3 separate regions of the Homo sapiens genome follow, and all the other regions are linked to region 2. The links are contacts of gene promoters, found by promoter capture Hi-C in human tissues and cell types (Jung and others, 2019). All regions are on one chromosome and are shown on one strand. The core of a region is centred on a gene start or on the middle of the fragment in contact, and the rest is flanking DNA. Distances in the headings are between cores, read along the strand shown. Region 1 has its middle 86 kb from the start of LINC02565. Region 2 holds the start of ONECUT2 (one cut homeobox 2). Region 3 has its middle 75 kb from the start of ST8SIA3.

What was found. Contacts are between HindIII fragments. The study calls those that stand out against the background at their distance.
Region 1: a fragment that was not itself captured here is called in contact with the fragment with the promoter of ONECUT2 in region 2 in 2 of the 25 tissues and cell types used here (H1 embryonic stem cells and mesendoderm cells).
Region 3: a contact is called between a fragment that was not itself captured here and the fragment with the promoter of ONECUT2 in region 2, in 1 of the 25 tissues and cell types used here (liver).

Annotation. Positions count from the first base shown.
Region 1 is chr18:57,255,516-57,258,298 of GRCh38, reverse strand. No RefSeq gene overlaps it. Among named protein-coding and RNA genes, the nearest start is that of LINC02565, 86 kb to the right of the region's middle. The HindIII fragment of the contact is 5,857 bases long and covers 1-2,783 here.
Region 2 is chr18:57,433,626-57,436,813 of GRCh38, reverse strand. ONECUT2 (one cut homeobox 2) reads right to left here and starts at 1,440. Exons shown (of 2, transcript NM_004852.3): 1 at 1-1,440. The coding sequence starts at 1,097. RefSeq lists a silencer at 1,511-1,560 and enhancers at 1,554-2,133, 2,134-2,714. The HindIII fragment of the contact is 18,346 bases long and covers 1-3,188 here.
Region 3 is chr18:57,276,498-57,279,279 of GRCh38, reverse strand. No RefSeq gene overlaps it. Among named protein-coding and RNA genes, the nearest start is that of ST8SIA3, 75 kb to the left of the region's middle. The HindIII fragment of the contact is 4,391 bases long and covers 1-2,782 here.

The DNA of each region.
Region 1 (2,783 bases), core at 158-2,657, 180 kb after region 2:
GATCCTACCCCTTAATTGCACCGTGTGACGAAGTGCAAAAATCCATCATTGTAATTACTTTCACTGGATTCCAGAGCATTTTGACTATATTCAAATGGATATGTAAACCCACAGATAAGCTTAATTTTCTCCAAATGATGGATTATTTCTTGTCATTTTCCCTATCTCCATCCCCCAACCCCTAGCGATGTCTATTTTTTCATTTTCAGAGACCAAAGTAAAGTGTCTCTTGACAAGTGATACCCACAGCTATTTTACTTCCCTGCTCACTAAACAGGAACATGGTATCCTTTGATCTTTCCAGCCCATTATAAGCTGGTCTCTGTGTAGTCTTTCCTCTGTGTCTGTCTAAATTTCTCTTCTCTCATTTTCCTGGATTCCTACCATATTCACGCATCCTGTAGGACTGCATCTGGCTCCTGAAGCATAGTTGTTGGAAACCTAGTGTGTTAGTCCATTTTGTGCTGCCATAAGGGAATACCTGAGGCTGGGTAATTTATAAATAGATTTATTTCGTTCACAGTTCTGCAGGTTGTACAAGCATGGCACCAGCATCTTCTCAGCTTCTGGTGAGGCCTCAGGAAGCTGTTACTCATGGTGGGAAGGCAAACGGGGAGCAGGTGGGTCATATGACAAAGAGAGGTAGCAAGAGAAAAGAAGGGAAGGAGGTGCCAGACTGTTTAACCATCAGATCTCGTAGTAACGAACAGAGCAAGAACTCACTCATTACTGCAAGGATGGTGTGAAGCCATTCATGAGGGATCTACCACCATGACCTAAACACCTCCCACTAGGCCCCACCGCCAACATTGGGGATCAATATTTTACATGAGATTTGGAGGGACAAATATCCAAACTATATCACCCAGCCCTCTATCAGTAACAGCTACCTCTTCCTGAGCCCTTATTATGGGCCAGCCATCTTGGTATGCACTTGATCCCCATCTTCAGATCACCCAGGGTGGAAGCAGGAGAATCAGAGTTTGAACTGAAGCCTGCCCCACCTCCAAAACTCATGCCTGCACCTCCCTGCCTTTGTTTTGAACAATGGGTATGTTAAGACATTCAGCCATGCATCCCACAGGGCTCTGCACTCAGAAAGGACTCATGTTTGGGAGTTGATGATCTGCGGTTGCCAAGTCTTGAAATTCTTAATTGTTTTGTCTTGGAATTTGTCCAGTGGAATAATGGAGCACATGCTGGGGACTTGGAGCCTCAGTCCAGCACAAGACCACTTCCCATGGCCTCTCTGCCTCTCCTGGACTGGTTCTTACTGCACATTCCCCAGTCCCCTAGCATCTCAGGCCCTGCCCAGCCTCCTGCTCCCTTTCCCTCTCCCCTCCTCTCAACCACTGCCAGCCATCATCTGGGTGTTTCCTCTGGCAGGGCCTAAGTGTGGGTGCAGAGAGGGCAGAAAGCAGGTGTGTGCCCTGCAGCATCTGGGGTAGCAGCCATCCTCATCGTGGCTGGAAGGGCCACCTGCATTTGGCAGATGGCTCAGCTGGGACCTCTCATTCAACTCCAGTTCAGATACTGAGCATGTCCAAGGGCAGAAATTGCAGTCCTTTGGAGACTGCCTATTTCCAGTGGGTGAAGAGCCAGACCTATGGGAAGGGGAAACTGAATTCCCCACCCCTGGCCAGGGCCCCACATTTTCATCCTGCCATGGGCCCAGCTAATGATGAACCTGGCTCTGCTTAGGTCCAAAGGTTTGTGAGGACAAGTCATAGGAATTAGAACATGGTGATTCAGGGTATGCAGTGAGGATTCTCTTAGGGGAAGGGACTCCAATGCTTCAACCTCACTTAGCTGAATACTTTTTAGAAGACAGTAGAAGTCATATTTTCTATTTGAAGAAAAAAAGATATAAATCAGTAGAAAAAAGAACTTTCTCTATAGACATCACAAACCAGAGAAGTGAAACAATGGTAGTGAACAGATGGGAAAGGGAGAGGTATTAGGCATCAATTTCAAGACACTGAGTTTTGTCCTTTTGATTTGTTAGTTTCTGTAAAACAAGCCCAAGGAGGTCACTATATGTCAGCCTCTGGCCCAGCACAGAATGATCCTGAAATATTTACAGAGGTGGTGCCCTGGTGCCCCATTCAAGGTCAAGTTCACATGTAGCATCCTGCCTGATGTCCTGTAGCTCCAAGTGTTGTGGATGTACAGAGCATCGGGGCTAGAAGGAAAGGGACATGTCCAAACTTTGATTTTGCCCAGAAGAAAACTGAGGCCCAGAGAGCTGTCCCTTACCTACCCACTCAGTGAGGACTGACACCAAAGGTCTCATGGCTCTTTACCTGAATGAATGGTGTAAGAGCTCACAGAGTATTTAATAAGTCCTAGGTGTAGAACTGAGCACTTCATACACATTAGCTCATTTGAGCCTCACAAAAACTCTACAAGGAAGGTATTTCTGGTGAGTCTCATCAAAGGTACATTTGACTTGTACACATCCAACTATGTGTTACCTTCCTGGAGGTTGCCATACAAGATAACCACAACCTGTGTGGTTTAAACATCAGAAACTTATTGTCTCACAGTTCTGAGGCTTGACAAAGTCAAGGTGTCAGCAGGATTGATTTTTCTGAGGGCTGTGAGAGAGAATGTGTTATATCTTATCTCCTAGCTTTTGGTAGCCTCAGGTGTTCCTTAGCTTGTATATGGCCTCTTCTTGTGTCTTCATCTCACCCTCCCACTGTACATGTCTCTGTGTTTAAATTTTCTCTCTCTCTCTCTTTATTTATTTTTTTGAGAAAGAGTCTCGCATTGTTGCCAAA
Region 2 (3,188 bases), core at 191-2,690:
CCCTGAGACCGGCACAGCACCCTCTGCGCAAAGATCGCCTGGGGGATACTGTAGCGCTTCAGCTCCGCTGTGATGCGCTGGGCCACCTCTTTGGTGTTGATTTCTTCCAGCTGGCCCGACGTGGCCACCTGCGAGCCCGATGAGGACGAGGGTGGCCGCTCGCGACTGGGTGCCAGCACCGGCCCGTGAGACTGAGTGTGGCCCGGGTGGTGCAGGCCGTTCAGGTGCGACATCATGGCCGCAGGTGGGGTGCCCAGGCCGCGGGACAGGTGTTGCTCACCGCGGGTCAGCATGGCAGTGTGGTGCGCGTCGAAGTTGGGGCTGAGCATTTTGTCGTGGCCCGGCGGACCGTAGTTGGGCAGACTCTGCTGCGCGTTGTGGAGGCCGCCTAGCCCGTTGCCCAGCGGCGTGGCGGCCAGCGGGGACAGGCTCTGGCTCATGCCGGGCATCTCCTTGTAGGGACTGTAGAGGTTGTTCATGGCCGGGAGCCCGCGCTCGTCGCGCATGAGGGTGAAGCTGCCGCTGACGTTGCCGGACAGGCGCTGGTGGTGGTGGTGGTGGTGGTGGTGCGGATGGTGGTGCGGGTGAGGGTGGTGGAACTTGTCAGACACGGTGGAGATGGGTGGCAGCGGCTGGAGCGGTGTCAGCGTGGTGTAGGTGTTGCTCATGCCCATGCCAGGCGGAGACGAGTCGCAGGACATGCTCATGGCGTGGTGCAGCGGGATGGAGAGCTCGGGCCGGTAGTCGCCGCCGTCCAGGATCGAGGCCATGCTGGTGACCATGGCCGAGCGCGACGCCGCCGCTGCCGCCGCTGCCGCCGTGCCCAGCTCCTGGTGCGCGGTTGGAGGCGGCGGAGGGCCCCGCAGCGAGCCAGCGGCGCCGCGGCCCGCGTGGTGGGGGCTGGGGCTGGCCAGCAGCTCCTGCTCATGGCCCGGGCCCCCGCCGCCGCCCCCGCCGCCCCCGCCGCCGCCCCCGCCACTGCCGCCGCCGGCCGGCCCGTGCAAAGTGCCCAGACTTTCCATTGTCAGCTCCGGGTTCATGGCGCAGCCTTCTAGGTCTTTGGTGAGGCATCGATAGGCGGTGTAGGCAGCCTTCATTCAGTCCATCAGGGCCCGGGGGCGGCGGGGGCGGCGGGGGCGGCCGGCGGGCGGGCAAGGCGCGCGTGGCGGGGCTCGGCTGCGGGAGTGGGGGCGGGCGCGGGAGTGAGTGGAGAGGAGTGCGCGTGCGGGTGTGCGCCCCGGGCTGCGGGCGGGCTCGCCCGGGGTGGGGGCGGGGTGGGGGCGGACGGGGCGTGCGTGCGGGAGAGGGGAGGGGACGGGGAGGGAGGGAGGGATCACCGGGCCCCGCCGCTCGGGCCGGCTCGCAGCCTCGCCATGTCCGAGCCCGCTCCGGCGCCGACGTCTTCTGTTTGGGTGAGCGGGAGCTGTCCAGAAGGGCTCTGCCGCTCGCCGGGGCAGCCAACCTACCCTCCCGGACCTGGGGCGGGGCCACGCCCGACGGGCGCCAAGCGCAACCACTCCGAGGCCGCAGCTGCCCCGGGAGGCGGGCCTTCCACGGGAAGCTACCAGTGGCTGTGGAGGGGGCGGGGCCGCACTTTTCAGGTTTGGCTGACGGCTCGGTGCCTTTTTTACCTCCTTTGCTACTGGAATCAAACGTCAAGGAGAGGGAGGGAGGAGAAGGTGGGGGGGTCGCTGGGGAGAGGGAGGCTGGAGTGCGAGCGAGCGAGAGAGATTCGGTGAAAGATGCCGTGCTGTGTCCCCCCTGAGCAGCTGCGATCTGGGGGAAGGGGCATTGCTTCAATCGCCTTCGCCTCACCCCAAAGCTTTCCTGGAGGCGAGTAAGCCGGGAGCAAAAGACTCCGCTATGTGCCAGTATAGACAAACACTCGTCACTAACAAGCCACTTACCGAGAGTCCCTAGCTGGGAGCCAATAGTTTAGCCTTTTAAAATGCAGGCGCTAATGTATTCTAATGCATGGTAAATTCCCGAGGCCGGGACATGCATAATCTACGCGGTCAGAGCAACTGTAGTGCCCTCGTCGCCAGCGAGCTGCGGCCGGCCGGCGGCCCACGGGCGGCGCGGGCAGCAGTAATGCATGCAAAGTTAACACAATAACATCATTTAATTACCCGGTGAGCCCATAAATCTCAGTTATGAGGCTTCCGAAGAGCCCTGCTAGATTGCAAAACAAAACTAGAATTCCGGGAGCTGCCGTTTCAAGGTGACCAAGTGCTTTCTGCATCAGCGACTTGGAAAGAAGTGGGGAGAGTGTAGAACCGGTGAGGTGGAGGTGAGGAGGGTCGCTGGTGTCCCAAGTGAGCAAACTTCTCCTGGGGGCAGAGAGTAAGCAAACCAGCTGAGACGGCAACCACGGACCTTTCTCCTAACACGAGACACACACACGCGCACACACACACACACACACACACACACACACTCCCGCTTCTCTCAAATCCCGGGAGAGAAACGGCGGTGGGCAGACGACAAGGAATCCTGGCTGACACCTGCATATTCAAACCTTGTTTCTGAAAAGACCAGCGCCCCGGCCAGCCTGAGAACGCTCACAAGCCAAGGCTTTAAAAACCGCACCTACGTCTTCCTAGAATTTCCGTTGTTTGGCAACCCCAGGTCTGGAGGTGGGAGTGGAACTGGGGGACAGAGAGTTGGAGATTTCTGCAGTCCGAGTCGGGGTGGAGGGGTAGTTGAAGACAGAGAGGCCAACACCCGGCATAAAGCCTTAAACGTAACAAGATTCTTCCAAAGCAGGTTGCGCTCTGTTTGCCTCCGAAGATTCAAGCTAGCTGAGGTTGCGCAGATGTTGCCTTTGTTTAAAGAGACAGTAATTAAGGACAGGGTGGACATAAGTTTGAGAAGCGTGACCTATTTTCTTTTGATCAGCTGTCAAAAGAAGAGCAGGGGGTCTCCTTAAGACAGCCCCCTTCAACCACTTCCAGCTGTTAGAGAAAACTTGATAAGAAAACAAGGGCAGAGCTCGGAATACTGTATGTCCCTTCTTGGTGCCAGAGAAAGGTTTGATTCATTTGGAAAACAGTTCTTAGTCTCAGTGACCTTTTCTGCCGCCCTCCTCTCTCTTCTTGCTTCAGAGCAACACCCCCACCCCCACCCTGTCACATGAATGTACAGTGACGTTATTCATAGATCAACTTCATTGAGCTCTGGCCAATACG
Region 3 (2,782 bases), core at 207-2,706, 160 kb after region 2:
AGCTGAGAGATGGAGAAATTGAGCCCTGATAATATCATTTGCCATTCCTGATCCAGTTGTGCCTGAAACCTCCACATGTCTCCATTATGCAGCTTGGTAATTTCCTCTCTTTAGCTTGAGTCACTTGCAGATGGAGTTTTGTCCCATGTAACCATGGTAGTACAATCAATCAATCAGGAGGCTATTTCAAAAGTCCCCATGACTGCTACAGCTTGACAGCAAGATAAAAAAGACTTTGAAATCTACTGCAGAGGCACCTTATTGGATATTTAACCAAGGAGCTCCATCTTAACCAAAAGTCTTAGTAAACTTAAAGGTATTTTTGTTGACAGTATATTTTCATTTTGCCTAATAAATGAAGTGCCAGGGACCTAGTGTACATGTGGTGTGATGAGATGGGAAGGGCTAACTTTTGCAGGTGGTCATTTTTATTCCTGCAATTCCTTTACTTACCCCTCACCATTTCCATCCCTATCTTTTTTTAGATTTATTCTTCTAAGAGCTCAGCTTCTGATATGAGCCACCTGTTTCCCCATTGTTCACCCCAAGAAGGAGGTGGAAACTTTAGGTTGGAGGAGGGAAGAAGAAATTGATGAGAAAGAAGACAGGGAGTTAGGCTCAGGGCAGGGCACCTGACTCTTCCTTCTTCTTGAAACTCCTTTTAAAATTTGGAAATCTGAGAGTGGAGAGGACTCGTGTGACTAACTTCCAAGACAACATCTGGGGACCCTGCAAGGGTCATAGACAAGTTCCCCAAACCATCAGGGTGGGAGAAGGTATGTGGAGAGGAGGACATCGGCTTAAACTCTGGGTTCTCTGTGGGAGAATGAGAGCTGGCCAGCCTGCAAAGGATCTTCCTGTGGCCAGAACCAGGGAGGATGAGCCACCCATGATAGCTGCAAAGGCTGAGAGAGAGGCAGAGAGAGAGAGAGAGAAAGAGAGAGAGAGAGAGAGAGAGAGAGAGAGAGAGAGAGAGAGAGAGAGAGAGGCCCTCCACACTCGCTTCTACTGGGACCACAGCAACATTGCACAAGGCCTGCTCCCTCCTTTCCTGGAGTGTAGGATCAACTCCAGGAAGGCACAAGAGAGGGTGGGAAATCCTCAATGGGACTGAGTTTTAAACCTGAAATGGTTTAGATATCACCAAATTCGACAGTATTTTCCCTGAATTAATAAGACTATGTTTCTGGCCATCTGGTAGAAATAAGGTACTGAGAGAGAAATCAAATCCTGTTAGAGGGGAAAAAAGTGATACTTTCTCATACTTGAATTTGTGACTTAGAAAATTTGTACCCGCTACATATACTTTTGGGTACTAATCTTTAGTGTCAAAGTAAAATCTTTAGTTAAAGGAAAAGGGGAAAGGGGTTGGGCCAGCAACACAGTTCACCAGCAAGCTTTCCCCTTCGGTGTGTGTGGCCTTCAGCCAGGCCTCACATGTGTGACCATCTTTACTGTCAGGCTTCTGTCTAGTGGGAGGCCATCCTTCCCTGGCAAGAGGGGGCCAGTCTGCTCGCCAGTGCCTACAGTGTTAGTTCTAAGAGTCAGTCATTTCTGAGGGACCCTGAAGCCTTTGCCTGAAGAGACACCACCCCCATCTCTGATTTTAAAATACAGATTTGCCAGGATTGATTAACTTGTGCAAATAAAACCACTTAGGCAGTTAGGCATTCTTTCAGTTAGAAATGCTCAAATTTAGGCATGCATCAAAATCGCCTGATGAGAAGGAGAGCATGATGGGTGACGGTTGAGAAAATCAGATTCCCAGGCCTGACCCCTGAATATTGATTCTGACATAAGTGATCATTTGTACACACTTTGAGAAACTGTGCTGAGGGTATTGTATGCCATTCAGATTTCCTTAAAAAGCTCCCAGAATGGACAAGTAACTCTTTCAAATTCTCTCTTGCAGATTAGTCCTAGGGGCAAACCAAAGTTTTTAAAGGGGAAAAAATCATGTAAAAGGTAGTTTCTCTAGAAAGTTGACAGCCACTAGAAGAATAAATGTGCCTGGAATAGACATGACATCTTAATCATTGGTACTGAAGAGCTGTAATGCCAGACTATAGAAAGCTTAAATCAAACTGTAGCTCTTTTTCTTTTATTAAAGAAAGAAAGCCCAGGAGTACAATGCCAGAACAAGAACTAATTCTGGAAGCTTGCTGGTATGATATTGTCAGTCACACCAGTGATGTGGATAAAAGCTTTTAGCACATGAATAATTTCAGTGAAAGGGCTTTATCGCTTTTTATTTGCTGGGCATTTACAGGAGAATAAACATGCTGGTATATATTATATATGGAGTGAAAGTCAGCAGCAAATGAAAGCAAAGACCCCCAGACCCAGTTACCAGAACAGACTAGGGTTGCTTAGCAACCGGGCAACTGGAGAATTCTCTCTCCCTTTCTTTCTTTTGTTTTTAGATTGCAGTAACCTTTGATCAATTTTGGCTCTACAACAAAAGCCTTGGATATTTTGAGAGAAATGTACCTGCTTATTTGTAGTAACAAGGACATAGACCGTGACACCAATTTCTGTCTCGTATTTCATGTTAAACAGCAGAACAGCCTCAAATTCCTTTTAAAAATCTTATTGTTGGTGGGCTGGATCTCTGATGAATCAGAAGTTTTATGATAATTGCTTTAAATTACTCTAAAAGATGTTTACTGTCTGTCAGTTGCCCTTGGTTCTTCTGCTCATTGACCAACTTTAGAAGCCTAGGTCTTGGTTCCAAATCCACTTCCTGAGAAGCAGCATCTGAATCCCAAGTCTTAAATCCTCC